Linked DNA regions of Homo sapiens: region 2 is linked to region 1. The links are contacts of gene promoters, found by promoter capture Hi-C in blood cells and fetal thymus (Javierre and others, 2016). All regions are on one chromosome and are shown on one strand. Each heading gives the region's core, a stretch centred on a gene start or on the middle of the fragment in contact. The rest is flanking DNA. Distances are from core to core; before and after follow the strand shown.

Evidence for each region. Contacts are between HindIII fragments. The CHiCAGO score rates a contact against its expected background, and 5 or more counts as called.
Region 2: a contact is called between a fragment that was not itself captured here and the fragment with the promoter of RPL35A in region 1, in 3 of 17 cell types (megakaryocytes, total B cells and naive B cells). The highest score is 8.1, in megakaryocytes.

The regions. Positions count from the first base shown.
Region 1 is chr3:197,946,933-197,953,146 of GRCh38, reverse strand. It overlaps RPL35A (ribosomal protein L35a), which reads right to left and starts at 2,957. Exons shown (of 5, transcript NM_000996.4): 1 at 2,926-2,957; 2 at 2,169-2,211; 3 at 1,836-1,988. The coding sequence starts at 2,179. All of the region lies in intron 2 of DRC9 (dynein regulatory complex subunit 9), which reads left to right. RefSeq lists enhancers at 908-1,689, 2,473-3,255, 3,335-3,554. The HindIII fragment of the contact is 8,868 bases long and covers 2,026-6,214 here.
Region 2 is chr3:198,081,386-198,087,599 of GRCh38, reverse strand. No RefSeq gene overlaps it. Among named protein-coding and RNA genes, the nearest start is that of LMLN-AS1, 45 kb to the right of the region's middle. The HindIII fragment of the contact is 2,455 bases long and covers 1,877-4,331 here.

The sequences.
Region 1 (6,214 bases), core at 1,708-4,207:
GGAGTGGGTGAAGACAATAGGATTTGCTCTTGTTGTCCAGGCTAAGGTGCAATGGCACGATGGCTCACGCCTGTAATCCCAGCACTTTGGGAGGCTGGGGCGGGTGGATCACGAGGTCAGGAGTTCGAGACCAGCCTGGCCAACATGGTGAAACCCTGTCTCTACTAAAAATACAAAAGTTAGCCGGGTGTGGTGGTGCGCGCCTGTAATCCCAGCTACTGGGGAAGCTGAGGTTGCAGTGAGCTGAGATCACACCACTGCACTCCAGCCTGGGCAACAGAGCAACACTTTGTCTCAAAAAAAAAAAAAAGTCTACAGCATAAACATCTTTAGGCATGCATAAAAACTAATTTTGGCCTGGTGCAGTGACTTGCGCTATAATCCCAGCACTCTGGGAGGCCGAGGCAGGTGGATTACTTGAGGTCAGGAGTTCAAGACCAGAGTGACCAACACTGTGAAACCCCGTTTCTACTAAAAACATAAAATTAGCTGGGTGTGGTGGCACACGCCTGTAATCCCACCTCACTCGGAGGCTGAGGCAGGATAATCGCTTGAACCCGGGAAGCAGAGATTACAGTGAGCTGAGATTGTGCCATTGCACTTTAGCCTGGATAACAAGAGCAAAACTCTGTCTCAAAAAAGAAAGAAAAAAAGAAAAGAAAGAAAAGAAAAAACAAGGGGCGGGGCACCGTGGCTCCTGCCTGTAATCCCAGCACTTTGGGAGGCTGAGGTGGGTGGATCACAAGTTCAGGAGTTTAAGACCAGCCTGGCCAAAATGGTGAAACCCCATCTCTACTAAATATACAAAAATTAGACAGGCATGGTGGCGGCCGCCTGTAATCCCAGCTACTCAGGAGGCTAAGGCAGGAGAATCCCTTGAACCCGGGAGGCGGAGGTTGCGGTGAGCCGATATTGTGCTACTGCACTCCAGCCTAGGTGACAGTGAGACTCCGTCTCCAAAAAAAAAAAAAAAAAAAAAAAAAACCCATAATTTTAAGGCATTAACAAAATGCATTAAGCACAAGTGTTCTAAAAATCCTTAAATTCTGGCAAAAGGAGCCGAGAAAAAAAATTAGAAACCTTAAAAGGATCACAATATAAGGAATTACCTCCTTTATTGCTTACAAGTGCAAAAGGTACCTAAATCCAACACCACCCTCAGAAGTAACGTCCTTCTAAAACTCCCCATTAAGTTCCTTAATGACGCAAAATAGAAGCCACAGCAATACCAATCCAGCCTGGCCAACATGGGGAAACCCATTCTCTAGTAAAAATACAAAAATTAGCCGGGCGTGGTGGCACACCCCTGTAAGCCCAGCTACTCAGGAGGCTGAGGCAGGAGAATCGCTTGAGCCAGGAGGCAGAGGCTGCAGCGAGCCAAGATCGCGCTACTGCCCTCCAACCTGGGCAACAGAGACTCTTGTCACAAAAACAAAAAAACAATACCAAGTACTTCAGCTAAATCTTTTGTTTATTATTTCAATAGGATAATGAGGCCAGGCGCGGTGGCTCAAGCCTGTAATCTCAGCACTTTGGGAGGCCGAGGTGGGCGGATCACCTAAGGTCAGGAGTTTGGGACCAGCCTGGCCAACATGGCAATACCCTGTCTCTACTAATAATACAAAAACTAGCCGGGCGTGGTGGCCGGCGCCTGTAATCCCAGCTACTCGGGAGGCTGAGACAGGACACTTGCTTGAACCCGGGAGGCGGAGGTTTCGGTGAGGGAGACCAAGTCACTGCATTCCAGCCTCGGCAACAGAGCAAGACTCCGTTATATAAAAAAGAAAATGAGGCAGATCTCAAAAACCCAAAACCTACCAGTGTCATAAACTTACTTCTTTGCTTTATATACATAAGCGCATCTCTTGCCCAAATAGAATTCTGTTTCATCTCGGGCGTAAACACCTTCAATTTTAAGAAGAGCTGTGTGCTCCCTTTGGTTCCGGAGACCCCGCTTATAGCCAGCAAAAATGGCCTTGGACCACAGCCTAAGACACAAAAGATACACAACATGAAACATAAGCTTCAAAAAACCAATCTGACTTGTAATCACCCCCACCCAAAAGTTACTCAGAGCAAACATCTAAGTTTTTTCTTGCCAATTTTAAGCTCGCATTTACGTTCACGTCTAACACACAAAAATAAAGAACTATATTTAAAACGCGTACCTTCCAGACATAGTTCCTTTTAGAAGTCCCGTTCCCAGCAGGCCTTAAAACAAACAAAAAGATTAGTTTAAAACCAAGCCACACAAGTTTCCCACCTCGTCCCCTCTCGTTTAAGCCCCTAAAGCAAATTCCTTTTGGATGGGAGTTTCATGTAGGAGTTCGGGGACAACAATGCCAGAACATCCATATGAAACGCAGGGTCCGGCAAGACATTCAAACCTCAGAGAACAGCTGGTATCTAAGCAAACTTCAGAATGAAGACAAAACTAAGGGACAGGAGTCACAAAAATGACTCTCAGAAAAGCCTGAGAAAATGCATGCCGTTATCAGTAGGCAACACTCAGGAAAAGAAATGAAGCCTTAAAGAGAAACACACACGTAAGACTTTTATGCAATGGCTGGGGGAGAAAAGCTGAGGAAAGAGACTGGTCAGACAAGCCAAGGAAGGTATGGACTGGGAGGAAACGGATGAAGGAAGCACTGCCTCATGGACAACTGCACACGAACAAAAACATCGTTTCACTCCGTTCAGGCCCAGGAATTTAACTGGGATAACCCGGGCAGCCGTTCTCCGGGTGTCAGGGGACCAAACACCATCAGCCCAACATCTCCTCCATCCTGTTCTCCCTCTTCTTGAAACCCGTAGAAATCAATGGCTGGCAGAGACTCCGATACGCACCGGCGACTCGCCAAGGCACAGGAACAAACCTACTCCGGTTATTTGCCCCCAAATTTCAGCAGCAGACCCTTCACTCACCTCCACAGGAGCCAAGATGGCGGTAAGAGAAGGACGAGGCCCCGCCGCGTGGCCTTGTGGGATTAAACATCTTTCGACTCCGCCCTCAATTTAGGCATCTTCTCCAAACGCCAGAAAAACAATCCTCGGAAATCGGCTTCGCACTGAAATAAGCCACATTCAATAGCACTCTTACAATTATTTTCCTAAGTCCTTTCATCTTGGTAGGCTGCAAAATGTACTACTTGGGAACAAGGGAAGGCAAAATGGTAGCCAGCTAAATCCGCCAAAGCTGTGCGTTGCCATAGAAACAACTTAGTTTACTTCCTGCGTCCCCGGACGCCGTAGGTGGAAAGGCGAACCCTGAGTGGAGGATGTTCCCGCTGCCTAAAGAATGATTGACTGTAAGATTGATTTGCCAACAGTGGGGTGCTTTTCTCTCGATACACACAGCAATAGACAGAACGGAAATTCTGGGATCCTAATCTAGCATGGAAGAGAAAGGCCGGGAGCACGAAGGCAGCAGGACCTCTTCCTTCTCTTTTTTCTTTTTCTATACTTCTTTTCTCCCCTCTACTTATTTATCTCTTTCAAGAAATGAGACTGGGCACAGTGGCTCACGCCTGTAAACCCAGCTCTTTGGGAAGCCGAGGCGGGAGGATCGCTTGAGGCCAGGAGTTCGAGACCAGCCTGGGCAACATAGTGAGACCACCTCCCCCAACCTCTACAAAAGAAAAAAAAAATGAATGAAATGACTTAAGTTCTTACCTCCATTCTTCTTTTTGGATCCGAGGTATGAGGAGGACTGCCTGCAGGAGGCTTTATCGCCCTTTTAGGAGAACTCGTTTAGCTGCCTCGTGTCCGCACCTAGTAGGTCCTCCGTAGATACTTGTAGAGGTGGATTAGTGGACGCCAGAGATTCACATTTCCGAATTATTGCATATTTATTTGGGTTATCCTATGGATTCATTCATTTATTTAACACATAGTTTAATGAATGACTACCCTGTACCAAGGTTTGTGTAAGATGACACGGCAGTAAACAAATCTATGCCCTCGTGGAGCTTATATCCTACGAGGCGGAGCAACACAATGAGCAAGTAAAAATAGATGACACGTTAGAAGATGATAATTTCTGTGAAGAAAATTAAGCAGAGAGGCCACTGTAAAAGAGGCTTTCCCCACTTTGAGATGGGAAGTATGTAAAAGAGGCTTCCCCTGCTTTGAGATGGGAACTATTTAAGGGTCCTGAACAGAAGGGTGACTCTATCTGACTTCTATATTGACAAAGTCACTGTGTTGAAAGTGAAGGGAGGCAAGGGTATCAGCAGGAAGATAATTATAGGTTCCTGTAGTGACTATGATGAGAGGTGATGGTGTGTAAACAGAGGATATTGAGTACTGGAATTCTGAATATATTTAAATTCTGGCAAGATTTGCTGGTGGATGAGGAATGAGAGAGAGTAAAGTATGACTCCGAAGTTGTATGAAATAGATGTATATAAGTCACTTTTAAAATCAGATCCTCTCTTAAATACAACAGGATAGAACTTGTACCTTGTAGCCTACTACCCCACCCAGTGTTCCCTGTCCCAGAAAGAAATGTGCTAGAAATTTCACTATTAGATATTGATTTGTCAAAGTTCTATATGGAAGTCCTCCTGGGAGGAATAACACATTAAGTGTGAGTTTCATTCGTTTGCTCGTGTATTATTCGTTCCACAAATACTTATTGAGCACTGAGACTTAGCACCTGATACAACTGTGAGCATCGTTGTCATGTTGCTGCTTTCATGGAACAGTTGTCTAGTGGGGGGAAACTGACACTAACGTAACAAATTGTGAACACAGCTCTGCGGGAAAGTAGTGGCATGAGTGCCCAGAAGCCTGATCTGGCCTGACGAGTCAGCGAAAGGATCACTTGGACAAGTGTCAGTTAAGGCATTTTTCAAACTGCAGGTGATGACCATTAGTAGAGCATGATAAGAATACTTTTTAAAACAAAGTATGGGCCGGGCGCAGTGGCTCACGCCTGTCATCCCAGCACTTTGGGAGGCTGAGGTGGGTGGATCACTTGAGGTCAGGAGTTTGAGACCAGCCTGGCCAACATAGTGAAACCCTGTCTCTACTAAAAATACAAAAATCAGCCAGGGGTGTTGGTGTGTGCCTGTCATCCCAGCTACTTGGGAGGCTGAGGTACAAGAATCGCTTCAACCTGGTAGGGGGAGGTTTCAGTGAGCTGAGATCCTGCCACTGCACTCCAGCCTTGGTGACAGAGTGAGACCGTCTCAAAAAAAAAAAAAAAAAAAAAAAAGGTAAAGCAGGAGTGAAACTACAAGGGATGATGGAGTCTCCCGGGACCTAGGAAAGAAATAGTTACCTAAGCCCAGAGAGAGACGTTTGGAGAGAATTGCCTGACAGGAGCCATGACCTTTGATAGAGGAACATAACCAACCAATTATATTCTGGCAGAGAAGGAGCAGGGAGAATAAATGTCTGATCTCACTTCTCTACACTGAATCTCTTTCTGGAATCTCCCCTGGATATACTCCATACGGGTCCATCTCTCAGAGCACAGAAAATGTTAGAGATTTCACCTAGAAAAATGACACTGTCTTAAGCTGGTGATGGGTCAGTGGGACTTTACACGGTGAAAAGGTGAGGGAAGAGTGGCTCCACTGGAAGGAATAGCAGGTGCAAAGACCCTGAGTTGCAAGGGAGCATGAGTCCAGAGAAGAACTGAAAGAAGCCCACTGTGGCTGGAGCCCAGAGAGCAAGGAAAGTGCAGTTGTAGTTGGGTCTAGAGAGGAACAGAGGGGCCCAGATCATACAGACCTTGTGGACCAAGTCAAGAATTTTCTTCTTTGTCCTAAGGCAACGGGAAACCATTGAAGGGTTCTAGGGAAGGACATGATGAGATTTTCCATTTTAAAAGATCACCCTTTCATTTTAAAAAGCTCACTTCCTGAACCTTCTGTCAGGATATCAGAAAAAAAAAATTTAAAAATTAAAAGATCACTTCCAATTTAGAGGTTGTTGGAGTAGTTCAAGCAAAAAAGAAAACAAGGAAACAAACAAACACAGCAACAACTAGGTCCAGCTTAGGAGATATGGAAATAGAAAGTAAAATCCGCCTGGGCGCCTTGGCTCACGCCTGTAATCTCAACACTTTGGGAGACTGAGGCAGGTGGATCACCTGAGGTCAAGAGTTCGAGACCAGCCTGGCCAACATGGTGAAACCCCGTCTCTACTAAAAATACAAAATGGTGGTGTGAGCCTGTAATCCCAGTTACTCGGGAGGCTGAGGCAG
Region 2 (6,214 bases), core at 1,855-4,354, 130 kb before region 1:
TTTGTCTTCCATAATTGTGTGAGCCAATTTCCACAATAAATTTTCTTTATTTATCTCTTTTTGTCTCTCTCTCTCTCTCTGTCTCTATCCTTCTGTCTCTCTGTGTGTTTGTGTGTGTGTGTGTGTGTGTGTGTGTGTGTGTGTGTGTGTGTCCTATTGATTCTGTTTCTATGAAAAGCGCTGCCTAATACCGGAACTTTTGCTTGGTCTTCCCTACCATAATTGATCTTATTCTACATTTCAACAAACCAATGCAATTTCTGTAAGTTGCTGTGTACATCCATTTCAATTATGTCCTCGATGACCAGGGCAATGAACACAGGGTAGTTTAACAAACCCATTAGACTAATGTGAGAGAAAGGCGGACCAGAAAGCCATTTATCAGCTGATCCCTGAAAATTCCAATTATAATAGGTATCTTAATGGCATTTTTGTGTACCCTGGTATCAGTGTCATCTAAGCCCTGGTATTTAAAAGTTCTTGAAAGATCTGGTGAAACTATCCCTAATTATAATAGTTTTAGAACATCTTTGGAGGTGGTTTTGGAAAGTAATTATTACATCATTTAGGCAAAGGTATGGATGTAAATGTGCCATGCAAATACTAACCCTACATGGTGTGCCCATATTAATATTAGATAAAGTGGTCTTCAAAACAGGAGTACTGCCAAAGATAAAGGTGTCAGGTCATAATCAAAAAAGGCCAGTTCATAAAATTAACAATCTTAAATGGATGAACCTAATGAAACTTCAAAATGTGAAACAGACATCAACAGAGTAAAGGTGATGATAATCAGATCTACTTTTCAAATGTCTGTGGAACATTAATCAAGATAGATCAAGTACTGGACCATCAAATAATTCTCACTAAATATAAAAGAAATTAAATCATAGACAGTTTGTGCTCTGAGCAAAACAGGACTAAATTAAAAATCAATAACAAAAATATGTTCAGAAAAACCTTAATATTTGGCAACTGAGCAAATAACTTTTAAATAACAATGGATATAGAAATAATTATCAGATCTGTATTTAAATTTTTTAATTGTGTTAAAATTTTAACAATTTTAAGTACATAATTCATAGCATTAAGTACATTCCCAGTGTTGTACAACCAGCATCTCCATTTCCATCACAAAAAGAAATAAAGTACCCTTAAACAGTAACTCACCATTACTTCCTCTCCCCAGTCTCTGGTAAACACTAATCTTCATTCTGTCTTCACAGATTTGCCTGTTCTAGATATTTCATATCAGCAGAATCATACAACATTTGTCATTTCATGTCTGGTTTACTTCACTCAGCATCATGTTTCCAAGTTTCACCCATGTTGCATGTATCAGAACTTCATCCCCTTTAATGGCTGAATAATATTCTATTATTTATGTATTATATTTTGTGTATCCATTCGTTGATGGACAAGGGTTGTCTCTGGCTATGGCGAATAATGCTGCAATTAACTTTGGTGTAAAAATATCTGTTCAAGACCCTGCTGTCAACTTTTTTGTGTATCATACCTAGGAGTGGAATTTCTGGTTCTCTGTGTGATTCTGTGAGGAAGTACCAAATTGTTTTTCACAGCAAGTGCATCATTTTCTATTCCTAGCAGCCAGTTCATGAGGGCTCCAATTTCTCCACCTCCTTAGCAACATTTATTTTCTGTGTCGTTGTTATGAAAGCCATACTAGTGGAAGCAAAGTGGCATCTCATTTTGGTTTGGTTTTCCATTTTATCAATGAATAATGGTGTTGAGCATCTTTTCTTGTTCTTATTAGACATTTGTTTATCTTCTTTGGAGAAACGTCTATTCAGGTCCTTTGCCTATTTTTTAATTGGGATGTTAGAAATTCTGTTGTTGAGTTTTGAGATATTAAGCTTTTATCAGATACACATTTTTCTTTTATCAGATACATATTTTCTCACATACTATGGGTTGTCTTTTCATTTCCTTGATAGTGTCCTTTGATGCATGAAAGTTTTTGATTAAATCTAACTTATGTATTTTTTCTTTTGTTATCTGTGCTTTTCTGTCATATTTCAAAAAACACTTAAGACTCAAAGGTCATGAAGGTTTCCTGTGTGTTTTCGTCCAAGAGTTACACATTTTAGTCCTTATATTTAAGTCTTCTGTTAATTTAGAGTTAATTTTTGTATATAGTGCAAGGCAAGGGTCTAACTTCTCTCCTGTGCACTGATACCCAGCTGTTGAACAGACTGTTCATTCCTCCATTGACTGGTCTTGGCCCCCTTGTTGAACAGTCGTCGACCATATATGTGAAGACTAATTTCTAGGATCTCAATTCTATTCTATTGGTCTAAATGTCAATTGGTCTTATGCCAGTAAAACACTCTCTTGATTACTGTAGATTTGTAGCACGTTGTGAATCTGGAAAATGTGAGTTTTCCAATGTTCTTTTTCAAGATCGTTTCATCTATGTCAGATCCTTTGAGTTTTTGTATGAATTTTAGAATGAGTTTCTCTGTTTCTGCAAAAAATGTCTTTGGGGTTTTGATGGTATTGCATTGAATCTATAGATTACTATAGATGGTATTGACATATTAACAATATTGTCTTACAATCCATGAACACAGAATATCTTTCCAGTTATTTCAACTCTCTTTAGTTTCTTTCAGCAAAGTTTTGTGTATACCACCATAGTTAGATTGATGCCTGAATATCTTATTTCTGGATGCTATTATAAATGGGATTTTAAAAATGTTTTGATAGTTCATTACAACTATATAGAAATAAAACTAATTTGCATATGTTTGTCTTGCATCCTGCCTATTTTATTAGTTCTAATGGGTTTTGTGTTTTCTTTGGAGATTCATAGATATATGATAATGTGTAGATATAATTTTACTTCTTTTTTTATTTCTAATTTAGATGCCTTTTATTTCTTTGTCTTGCCTAATTTCTCTGGCTAGAACTGCCAGTGCTATGTTGAATAGAAGGGGCAAAGTCACCATCCTTGCCTTGTTCTAGATGTTAGGGAAACAGCTTTCAGTGTTTCATCATTGAGCATGATATTAACTGTCAGTTTTTTATATATCCTAGTGTCATATTGCAGAAGTTCCTTTCTATGCCTAGTTTATTGAGTATTTTTATCATAAACGGGTGTTGTATTTCATCAATGTTTTTTCTGCATCAACTGAAATAATCATGTGCTTATTCATTTTACTATTATAGTATATTACACTGATTTTTTTTTTTTTTTTTTTTTTTTTTTTTTGAGACGGAGTTTCGCTCTTGTTGCCCAGACTGGAGTGCAATGGCGCGATCTCGGCTTTGGTATCAGGATAATGCTGTTATCAAAAAGTGAATTAGCAAGTATTCCTTCTTCACACATTTTGTCGGAAAAGTTTGGGAAGAAATGGTGTTAATTCTTCAAATGTTAGGTAGACTCACCAGTTAATGAAGCTATTTGGTCATAAATCTTTCTTTGTTATATCGCTTTCGATTACTAATTCAATCTCCTTGTCTATTCAGATTTTCTCTTTCTTCTTGAGCCATTTTGGTAGTTTGTGTCTTTCTAGCAATTCATCCATTTCATCCAGGGCACCTAATTTGTTGTTATACAGTTGTTCACAGTATAGTCCTATAATCCTTTTTTATTTCTGTAAAGTTGGTAGTAATGGTGCCACTTTCATTTATGATTTTAATACTGAGTCTTCCATCTTTTGCTCAGTAAATATAGTGAAAGGTTTGATCTTTCAAAGAATCAACTTCTAGCTATGTTTATTTCTTCCACTGCTTTTCAACCTTCTATTTTATTTATTTATGCTCTAATCTTTATTATTTCTTTCGTTCTTCCAGCTTTGGATTTAGTCTTTTTTTGTTTTTTCTACTGCCCGTAGGTATAGAGTGAAGTTACTGATTTGAGATTTTTTCTTAAATGTAGTTGTTTATAGCCATACATTTTCCTTTGAATTCTACTTTCACTGTATGCAATAAGTTTTGGTATGTTTTGTTTTTATTTTAATTTGTCTCAAGATGTTTTATAATTTTGCTTGTGATTTATTCCTTCACTCACTGTTAGTTTAAGAGTGTATTCTGTAATTCCCACATATTTGTGAATTTTCCAGTTTTCATTTTTTATGTATCTGTTGTTTCTTCCATTGTGATTGTAAATTATATTTTGTATTATTTCAAGGTTTTAAAAATGATTAGGACATATTTTGTGGACGAAGATATGGCCTATCCTAGAGAAAGTTCCATATCCGCTTGAAAAGAATGTGTATTCTGCTGTTGTTGGGTGGACTGTTCTCCATATGTGTATTAGCTCTAAATGGCTTATACTGTTGTTCAGGTCTTCCATTTCTCATCAAGCTTCTATCTGGTTTTTCTATCCATTAATTTTTTAATTTATTTTATTATTATTATACTTTAAGTTTTAGGGTACATGTGCACAATGTGCAGGTTAGTTACATATGTATACATGTGTCATGCTGGTGTGCTGCACCCATTAACTCGTCATTTAGCATTAGGTATATCTCCTAATGCTATCCCTCCCCCCTCCCCCCACCCCACCACAGTCTCCAGAGTGTGATATTCCCCTTCCTGTGTCCATGTGTTCTCATTGTTCAATTCCCACCTATGAGTGAGAATATGTGGTGTTTGGTTTTTTGTTCTTGCAATAGTTTACTGAGAATGATGATTTCCAATTTCATCCATGTCCTACAAAGGACATGAACTCATCATTTTTTATGGCTGCATAGCATTCCATGGTGTATATGTGCCACATTTTCTTAATCCAGTCTATCATCGTTGGACATTTGGGTTGCTTCCAAGTCTTTGCTATTGTGAATAGTGCTGCAATAAACATACGTGTGCATGTGTCTTTATAGCAGCATGATTTATAGTCCTTTGGGTATATACCCAGTAATGGGATGGCTGGGTCAAATGGTATTTCTAGTTCTAGATCCCTGAGGAATCGCCACACTGACTTCCACAAGGGTTGAACTAGTTTACAGTCCCACCAACAGTGTAAAAGTGTTCCTATTACTCCACATCCTCTCCAGCACCTGTTGTTTCCTGACTTTTTAATGATCGCCATTCTAACTGGTGTGAGATGGTATCTCATTGTGGTTTTGATTTGCATTTCTCTGATGGCCAGTGATGGTAAGCATGTTTTCATGTGTTTTTTGGCTGCATAAATGTCTTCTTTTGAGAAGTGTCTGTTCATGTCCTTCGCCCACTTTTTGATGGGGTTGTTTTTTTTTTCTTGTAAATTTGTTTGAGTTCATTGTAGATTCTGAATATTAGCCCTTTGTCCGATGAGTAGGTTGCGAAAATTTTCTTCCATTTTGTAGGTTGCCTGTTCACTCTGATGGTAGTTTCTTTTGCTGTGCAGAAGCTCTTTAGTTTAATTAATCCCATTTGTCAATTTTGGCTTTTGTTGCCATTGCTTTTGGTGTTTTAGACATGAAGTCCTTGCCCATAAATGAGGTATTGAAGTGTCCAACTACTACTATAAAACTGCGGGGTTATCCTTTTGATCTTGTTAATTTTTTCAGCTTTACTGAGGTTTAATAGAGAAATAAAAATTGCACATATTCAAGGTGGACAGTGTGATATGTTTATATATGCACATTCTGAAATGATTACCAAAATGAAGTCAATTAACATGTTAATTACCTCACATAATAGTTACCTTTTCGTGTGCATGCATGGGATAAGAAAACTTAACTCCATCCCCAGTGACTGCAGAGTGGCCATTCCAGCTGCTCCAGGCTCCGGCAGAGGAAGAGCGGGGCGGGTGGCACCACCAGGGGGGCCCACAGGCCTGGCGCGCACGCGTTCTGGAGCCCACCCAGACCATGCTCCGCCGCCTGGGCGCCCAAGCTGCAGTCGCCCTCTGTGTGCAGGCAACAACTGCCTGGTAACTCCCGAGCCTGCTCGCGCTCCCAGCATCGCAGAACCAGGGCCAGGTGTCCCGAGGGCTGCGGCCAAGCCAGGCATTCTGCCCGGCGGCGGCTGCACAGGGGCGAGAACTGAGAACCAGCCGCTCAACCCCATCGGGGTGAATGCCGAGTGCCCATGCCAGCGGCCTCGAACTCCCTGCGGTGGAGGAGTGGGGCGGGAGGTACGTCCTGGGGACCCTCAGTTGGGCGCGCTGGCGATCCCGGGGCCGCCCAGGCCATGCCCCTCCAGCCCGCCTGGGCACCCAAGCTGCAGCCGCCTTCTGTGTGCAGGCAGCAGCCTCCAGGCAACC